Linked DNA regions of Homo sapiens: all the other regions are linked to region 2. Evidence: promoter capture Hi-C in human tissues and cell types (Jung and others, 2019). All regions are on one chromosome and are shown on one strand. Each heading gives the region's core, a stretch centred on a gene start or on the middle of the fragment in contact. The rest is flanking DNA. Distances are from core to core; before and after follow the strand shown.

Region 1 (2,700 bases), core at 178-2,677, 180 kb after region 2:
GTACCAGCCCACATCTCTAAACTAACTTTTCTCTTTTATAAGACCATTTTAACTGTTTCTGCTAGGTAATGATCATTTAATCAAGGGCATAAAAAGATAAATAAATTGTGGGTACTGCCTTCAAGGAGGCTTTCTTAAATATTTATTTTTTAATTGACAAATAATAAGTGTACATATGCATGGGGCACATAGCGATGTTTTGATACATCAGGGTAATCAGCATATCCATCATCTCAGATATTTATCATTTCTTTGTGTTGGGAACATTCAATATCCTCTTTCTAGCTATTTGAAACTCTATTATTGTTAACTATTGTCATTCTACAGTGGTATAGAACGCTAGAACTTATTCCTCCTATCTAGTTGTAATTTTATGTCCTTTAACAAAACTTTCTGTATGCCCTCCACCTCCCCCTACCCTTCCCAGCCTCTAGTATCCTCTGTTCTACTTTTTACTCCTATGAGATCAACTTTTTTAAGCTTCCACGTATGAATGAGAACATGTGGTGTTTAACTCTCTGTTTTTGGCTTATTTCCGTTAACATAACGTCCTCCAGTTCCAACATCCATGTTGCCATGAATGGCAGGATTTCACTGTTTTTTAATGGCTAAATAGTATTCCATGGTGTGTATATGCTACATTTTCTCTATCTATTCATCTGTTGTTGGACATCTAACTTGATTCCATATCTTGATTATTGCGAATAGTGCTGCAGTAAACATGGGAGTGCGGAGGTCTCTACAAGGAGGCTTTTAAAGGCAGAACTTGCCGCCTTTCTTCCCATTCGCTTGGGTGTCATTCCGTGACAGGTTTGGAATCTTGATAAACTAAATAGAGCCATGGCTGAAATTCTCCTTGTTTCACTAGCCCTCCTGCTTCCTTCCCTGCAGACCACCATTCCTAATGGGATGGTTCCCCAGGCTTCAAGCTCTTCCCAGTTCTCTTTAAGCCCGGTCAGCTGCTTTCTGCTGAAGAGTGGAAGGATACATTCAACATGTTTTTAAATTTTCTGTATCCTGATGCTTTGACACCTGGGGCTGTGCTGATGACCCTGGAGGGACTGCCACTCCCAGGGTTAGCCAATTCCGAGAAACAGTAAATGACTCACGTGGGAGGGCGCACCTTTCCTATGCAAACCAACCGATCCAGTATCCATACCCCCAATCACTTCCTTTATTGGGCCGTCTCTCGGGGCCACCATCCACCTACTCTAATCACCCCAGGGCCAGTAACAGACAACTAGGGACAGTCCCTGTGCCCCAAAGTTCACTGAACTTATTCAAAGGAGCCAATCCTGAGCCTGTTTACCCTGTCTTGCATTACCATTCCTGCAGAAATCACAATAAAGGCTCTTGTCTGCATTTTCCCCTTGCTCCCTCGGGCCCCTGACCAGCCCTGATGCTTCCCCATATGCCCCCACTGCATGACAAGCTGTGCCTCCTGTTTTATACCCATGGGGAACTCTCTAGAATTTCATAGGGAGCTTTTAACAGCCATACCCTAGACCAATTAAATCAGAACCTCTAGGAATGTGACCCAAACTTTAAGTATTTTTTTTAATTCCCCAGGTGATTCGAAAGTGTAGCCAACTTTGAGAATGGGTGCTTTAAAACATCCCCATCGACGTTTTCATAGTACACATTTCTAAGTTAAAAAATCTTTCCCATAGTAATCTCCAATGTCTTCCTTCAAATACTAAAAAATGTGGAGGGTACTTTAACTTAGAATCTTACCCTCTCCCCTATCTGCTGCCACTTATATCTACATTTATGCCTCAATTGCATAATTATCCATGAGGGAGATCAGATTTTGCCAATAAAAAAGATTTTACCCAAGACAGTGAGGAACTTTTGGTGAAGAAGGGGTTAAGATGATAGCCAGCCCAGTTGCATGCTGGGAATTGTAGTACAATAGTAGCGCCCAGCCAGTGAGGTGCTACCAGCTCCGAAGCAGCTCACGGTATCCCTCATTCCACACAGCCCATCAGAGAGGCAGTGTCCAGCAGTGGCTAATGCTGTGGACATCAGAGCCAGGACACCTAATTTCGATACCAGCACCACCTTTCACTAGCTACAGGACCCTGGGCACACGACTTAACCTCCTGACCCTCTGTTTCCTTTTCTGCTAATATAGGGGAAATAATAGTAATATCTATCTAGCCCATGGGATTGTTATGAGGATTAAGTGAGTTAATATGGGTAAAGTGCTTTAGAATGGCAGCTGGCACATAATACGCATTTTATAAGAGTCAGCTTTCATTATTATTACTTCTCAACCCCTTTCTTGGCCCAAGTTCTATTCTCATGGACTATAAAAGGTGAAAATCCCCTGATTCCACAGTTAGAACATGCGAGTTTAGCTGTCCTTGGAGAAAGTATTCATATCTATTTGTCTAAATTGTCTTCTGGTCATTTCTCTTTAAAACCATAAGGTTGAGTTAGGGGCAAGGGCCAATGATATTAGCTATCAGAGCCCAGCACTCCTACCCAAATGAGCATCGCTGGATTTCACCTGCCCAGCCTGTTCTCTCTGCTCTGACAGCAGTACCCAACTTGCTTTTGTGGAACCACCTCTCTCCCACCATGTGCACTCTTGGTGAGATTGCCAGTCAAGGTGCCCCACTTTCCCAGGGCAATGGGCAGGGGTGCCTGACCCAAGATCAGTCCACCATACTCATCTTTTGGGGAGGAACATAAGGA
Region 2 (2,700 bases), core at 128-2,627:
CCTGCCTCAGCCTTCCAAGTAGCTGGGATTACAGGTACCTGCCACCATGCCCAGCTAATTTTTGTATTTTTAGTAGAGACGGGGTTTCACCACGTTGGCCATGGCTGGTCTGGAGCTCCCGACCTCAAGTGATCCACCCGCCTTGGCCTCCCAAAGTGCTGAGATTACAAGCATGAGCCACTGTGCCCAGTCAGTGCTTAGATTTCTTAAGACCCAACCTTAAGAAAGACAATTAGAAGACAGAGTGGGCAACTGGGAGAGGCCTGGTAATATGGCAGAGGGAAGAGGGGGTGAAGGTGTGGGTGGCAGGAGGGTGGCTGGTTGGGGAAGTGGCCACTGGATCTTAGGCCACAGGCATACTTTTCCATCTCCAGCTTCCTCATTTACAGAAAACGAGACTGCAGTGGTGTGATGGAAATGTGTGGGACGGGGACAGGTGACTGGCTTTCATTACTAACCAGAGGACAGCTTAGACAAGTCACTCTGGCTGGGCCTCAGTTTCCTTATCTCTAACGGGACTGGATTGCCCAGTGCTCCTCAAACTGTGGCACCTGGGGCACATTCATAGCTTGTGTGTGAATCTGCCAGCCTTGAAATATCTGTCTTCCTTGGATGGCAAGTTTATTAAAAATTTTGGAAGGACTCACTCTTTTTATAAGAAAGCATTTATGTCATTGTTCAGAATGCAAAATGTATATGCATTTTAGTTACAATAACTAATATTTGATAACATTTAACGAGTAATTACTGTGTGCCAAGTGTGCAAAACTCTAGGTGAGCCTCACAATAACCTAATGGGGTATTATTATTCCCATTTTATAGATTAAAAATCTGGGGTAGAGGGAGTAGATAATCCACCTAAAGACCTGTTATTAAGTAGTGATAAAAGATCTCCACTCCCTCTCTCCCCCACAAAAAATATGGACTCATTACAAGTTGTTTTAGGATCTACCTCCAGACCCATGGAGTTTCTTTAGTAAAGCCTGAACGACACAGGCCAAAATAATCTCCAAAGGCCAGCTCTGACCCTTTTAAATCAATTTTAGCTAAATCCGTTCACAAAAGGCTTCGCACATCCAGTGTCCCTGAAAAATAAAGGAGGTTGGGCAGGCCCTGCGGGGGCTCGAGGAATTCGCTAAGTGAGTTTTCTGGCTTCTGGATACACTTTCAAAGGGCCAGAGGGCACGAGGCTTCCGCCTTGGCCGCCACCTCCCCGGCCAGCTGCGGTGTTCGCGGCCAGTGTTGCCGGGCACTTCCTGGTTCCCGCGCGCCCCGGGTGCAGCTCCCTGCACCCAGTGCTGGCGCTCCTCAGAAGGGAGGGGGCCAGAGGCGAGATGTCGCAACCGCCTCCCTCCCTCTTTCCCCGCCTTGGCACTCAGTCGCCTCCCAGATGAGCACTCTCTCAGACCGCTGCGGGCCGCCAGGCGCCGGGAATGTCCCCTGAATGCGCGCGGGCAGCGGGCGACGCGCCCTTGCGCAGCCTGGAGCAAGCCAACCGCACCCGCTTTCCCTTCTTCTCCGACGTCAAGGGCGACCACCGGCTGGTGCTGGCCGCGGTGGAGACAACCGTGCTGGTGCTCATCTTTGCAGTGTCGCTGCTGGGCAACGTGTGCGCCCTGGTGCTGGTGGCGCGCCGACGACGCCGCGGCGCGACTGCCTGCCTGGTACTCAACCTCTTCTGCGCGGACCTGCTCTTCATCAGCGCTATCCCTCTGGTGCTGGCCGTGCGCTGGACTGAGGCCTGGCTGCTGGGCCCCGTTGCCTGCCACCTGCTCTTCTACGTGATGACCCTGAGCGGCAGCGTCACCATCCTCACGCTGGCCGCGGTCAGCCTGGAGCGCATGGTGTGCATCGTGCACCTGCAGCGCGGCGTGCGGGGTCCTGGGCGGCGGGCGCGGGCAGTGCTGCTGGCGCTCATCTGGGGCTATTCGGCGGTCGCCGCTCTGCCTCTCTGCGTCTTCTTCCGAGTCGTCCCGCAACGGCTCCCCGGCGCCGACCAGGTGAGCGCCCCTCTGTGTGTGCCGGGCAGGTGTCCTGCGCAGGCTGGGAAGCGGGGCCCCGACGGAAGCTGGGATGAGGATGATCAAGAACAACAATAGCCATTTATTGCACTTAATCGTTGTGCCAAATCTTGTGCCCATGGCTGTGAAGTTTAATCTCTTAAATCTCACTACAACGCTGTGCACACGCCCTCCTAAATGATGTAAGTGGAGTCCCCCAAATTCTTGCAAAATGCAATGACTGTTGCGAGGTTAATTAACGAGTAGTTTAGGAGCGAGACGGAACTTTGGGGGTGCAGGGTGGCCAAACACTTTGTATTGAATCATGATTCCTCGCCAGGTGCTACAATACTGTTATTATCACACCCATTTCACAGATGAGAACCAGAGGCACACCGAAGTGTATAATAACTTGCCCAGAGTATTTTATCCGTAATTCGAGGAGGAGATGGGCTCCTTCCAGAAGTTTACCCGTAATTCAAGGAGGAGTTGGGCTCCTGTCCAGGGTTGGGTTATGGTCCTGCTTTGAAAGCGCGCGGACAGGCATGTGAGACCCGGGGACCCCAGATGCAATGCTGTCTTTAGGGGACTTGTGACAGAATTCCCTTCCGGGGTCTTCAGTTTTTTCAGCTGCAAAACGGAAGGATTACACTAGACCTTCGAGGTGTCCTGGGCGCCTGAAATGTGCAGATTACAGAGG
Region 3 (2,700 bases), core at 128-2,627, 160 kb before region 2:
CAGTACATCGGGGCTGTTGCTCAGGTTGCCTTCGAAGAGACCAAGAGAATGGCAGAGATCACAGGGACAATGAGAGGAGATGGCACCGTTGGACCCAGCCAGGGATTGCTGAGTTCTCATTAGTGTTAGGATGGAAAAAGGAAGAAACATCACGGAACACTGCAGTCTTGCAATGACAAGCTTCAACTCCATCCCTCCCACTGCAGATCTTCTCTCTAGAGATCTGCTCGTGATCTATTTGTACTGTTTCCTGCTTGAGCCTCCTAATTCACAACTGCTCTTTCCACCCTAATGGCAGAAGAGAAACTCTCCTCATTTTCTTGCCAAGCACCAAGGTGATCATCTTGCTCTTCCTTCCTCCTCCTGGTTTGTCACTTTAACACACACGTGTCCCCTCCTTTATCCCTCTACCTTCCCTCTGCACTCAGGAAAAGGTTTACCCTGCTCAGCAGAGTGAAAATCTCAACCCTCTGCCATGCATTAGATCCTGCTACCTCCTGAATATTTGCAGATCCTACTACCTCCTGATTATTTTCAGGCTCCCCAAATGTCTCCTCTCTCTTGTGTACCTCTGGGGGTTCCGTCTCTATTGCAGCTTTTCCTCTGCCTTCAAGTAGACACAGATCTTTCTCTCCCTACAAAACCAAAAACCAAAAATCAACTCTGCCTACTACCTCTCCTCTTTCTTTTATTCACGAGCTCTTTGAAACTCGCTGACAAACTTTAGCTTTTCTTTTCTTAATACACAAAGAGTTAGAACTTCTGGTAATCTGTACAATATAATCTAAGAGAGCCTAGAAGACAAGCCACCCTGTCTAGAACCCTGCTTTTGGATTCTGAAACTCCTTCTCTACGATGCAAGATTATGAAAGAGATTTAATTTCCAAGGACAGTCACCTGTCAGTCATTCACATCCTGGTATGAATGAGTTTCATCAGATTACTATGTAGCATAGCTCTTGAAATCTTGGGCTCTGAAGCCACGTGGCCTAGGCTCAATCCACTCCCCACCCTCCACTTTCGAGCTATGTGAGTCTGAGTAAGTTTCTTAATTTCTCTAAGCTTCAGTTTCTTCATTTGTAAAGAGGGGAAAATAATAGTATTTACCACAGGGTTACTGTAAAGGTGTAATTATCTATAGGCGAAGCCTTTAGCACAGTATCTGGCATACAGAAGCACCCAATAAATTAACTGTTTATTTTTTAGTTTTGCTGTGTAATCAGTTTTGGTTGGTGTCTTCACCTGCTTGGGCTGCTATAACAAAATACCACAACCTGGGTGGCTTTTAGAAAACAGAAATTTATTTCTCACAGTTCTGGAGGTGGGGAAGTCCAAGATCAAGGCACCGGCGGATTCAGTGTCTGGTGAGGGCCCACTTCTTGGTTTGCAGTTGGAGCCTTCTCTGCCTCCCATGATGGAAGAAGCAAAGGAGCTCCCTTGAGCCCATTTTGATCACGGCACTAATCCCATGCATGAGGGCTCTGGCCCCGTGACCTAATCACCTCCCTAAAGGCCTCACTGCCTAATATCATCACGTTCAGGGTTAGGATTTCAATGTGTGAATTGTGGAGGGACACAACCATTCAGACCACTGCAATTGGAAGGGGCTTCTTCTGGAGCACAGGACACTTCCTGGAACCAGCTATGGGGGGTGTGGGGATGGGGCACTGGAGCAGTCCATGGGCAGCACAGCAGGCAGGGGTCCCAAAGTGAGGAAGAGGCAGCCACAAGGGAAAAGGGGGCCTCCACATGCACTGCTTTGCAATTTAGCCCAGGGTGGGCCCTGCTCCTCATCATCCATTCATTCATGCTTCGCCCATCCTAGCCTGGCTTCTGTTCTTCAAAAGTCAATCACCTCTCTTTGCCAAGCTCCGTGCCCTTTTCTGTATCTCCATATTGGATCTTCCACAGCCTTGGACACCAGTGCTCATATACATATTTTTAGATCATTGCAGCTCTCCTCCCCCGATCTGCTTTTTCAGGTTCTTCTGTGGGCCCCTGTTTTTGTCTCCTACTCACTGAGTGTGACTCCCTACTCTGTCCTCTGATCCTTTGACTCAACACTCTGTAGATCCTCACTTCACACTTCCTTCAAGTAGCCATGGACCCACAGAATGTTGTCCTAGAAGGGACCTTAGAGATCCTTGATCCAACCTACCCTTCACCCCATTTTACAGACAGAAAAACTGAGGTCCAGAAAGCTAAGGCAACTTGCCTGTGGTTAAGTTATTAGAAGCTGAGCTAAAACCAGGACCAAGTTTTCACACTGCCTCTCTGGTATAAAACTGGGTTTAAAACCAGGCTGTAGGTGAAGGACATGTTATGCTCCTAGTACCTCAACATCTTTTTCAGGCTACTGGGAAAACCTCATGGAAGTCAAAGATAAGGAATCTTTGTCCTCTGCAAGATGATCTGGACCTCCTCTTGCCTATTCTTGAAGAGACTTCAAAAGAAGGGCTTACCTGCTGTCTCTCTTAGGGCACCTGGATCCAAGCTCTTGGAATCTTCTTCATCCTACTCTCTACCAGGTAAGTTCCTCTCCTTCTTAAGTTTCAGATGAAACTTACTGTCTTCCAACATGCCCTCCCCACCTCTTCCAGATGGAGTTAGTCCCGCTCTCTCCTACCCGCCACACATTGTTCTTTCTAGTCCTCACCACATAGTCTTGCACCTGCTTGTCAACCCATAGGCTTCCCCTACT

What was found. Contacts are between HindIII fragments. The study calls those that stand out against the background at their distance.
Region 1: a fragment that was not itself captured here is called in contact with the fragment with the promoter of FFAR4 in region 2 in 3 of the 25 tissues and cell types used here (H1 embryonic stem cells, IMR-90 fibroblasts and spleen).
Region 3: a contact is called between a fragment that was not itself captured here and the fragment with the promoter of FFAR4 in region 2, in 2 of the 25 tissues and cell types used here (heart right ventricle and pancreas).

What each region holds. Positions count from the first base shown.
Region 1 is chr10:93,750,127-93,752,826 of GRCh38, forward strand. The region is part of intron 1 of LOC101927013 (a long non-coding RNA gene); the gene reads right to left. Among named protein-coding and RNA genes, the nearest start is that of LGI1, 6.5 kb to the right of the region's middle. The HindIII fragment of the contact is 5,661 bases long and covers 1-2,700 here.
Region 2 is chr10:93,565,288-93,567,987 of GRCh38, forward strand. It overlaps FFAR4 (free fatty acid receptor 4), which reads left to right and starts at 1,378. Exons shown (of 3, transcript NM_001195755.2): 1 at 1,378-2,000. The coding sequence starts at 1,434. RefSeq lists an enhancer at 780-1,618. The HindIII fragment of the contact is 11,697 bases long and covers 1-2,700 here.
Region 3 is chr10:93,409,936-93,412,635 of GRCh38, forward strand. All of the region lies in intron 5 of MYOF (myoferlin), which reads right to left. Among named protein-coding and RNA genes, the nearest start is that of MYOF, 71 kb to the right of the region's middle. The HindIII fragment of the contact is 3,899 bases long and covers 1-2,700 here.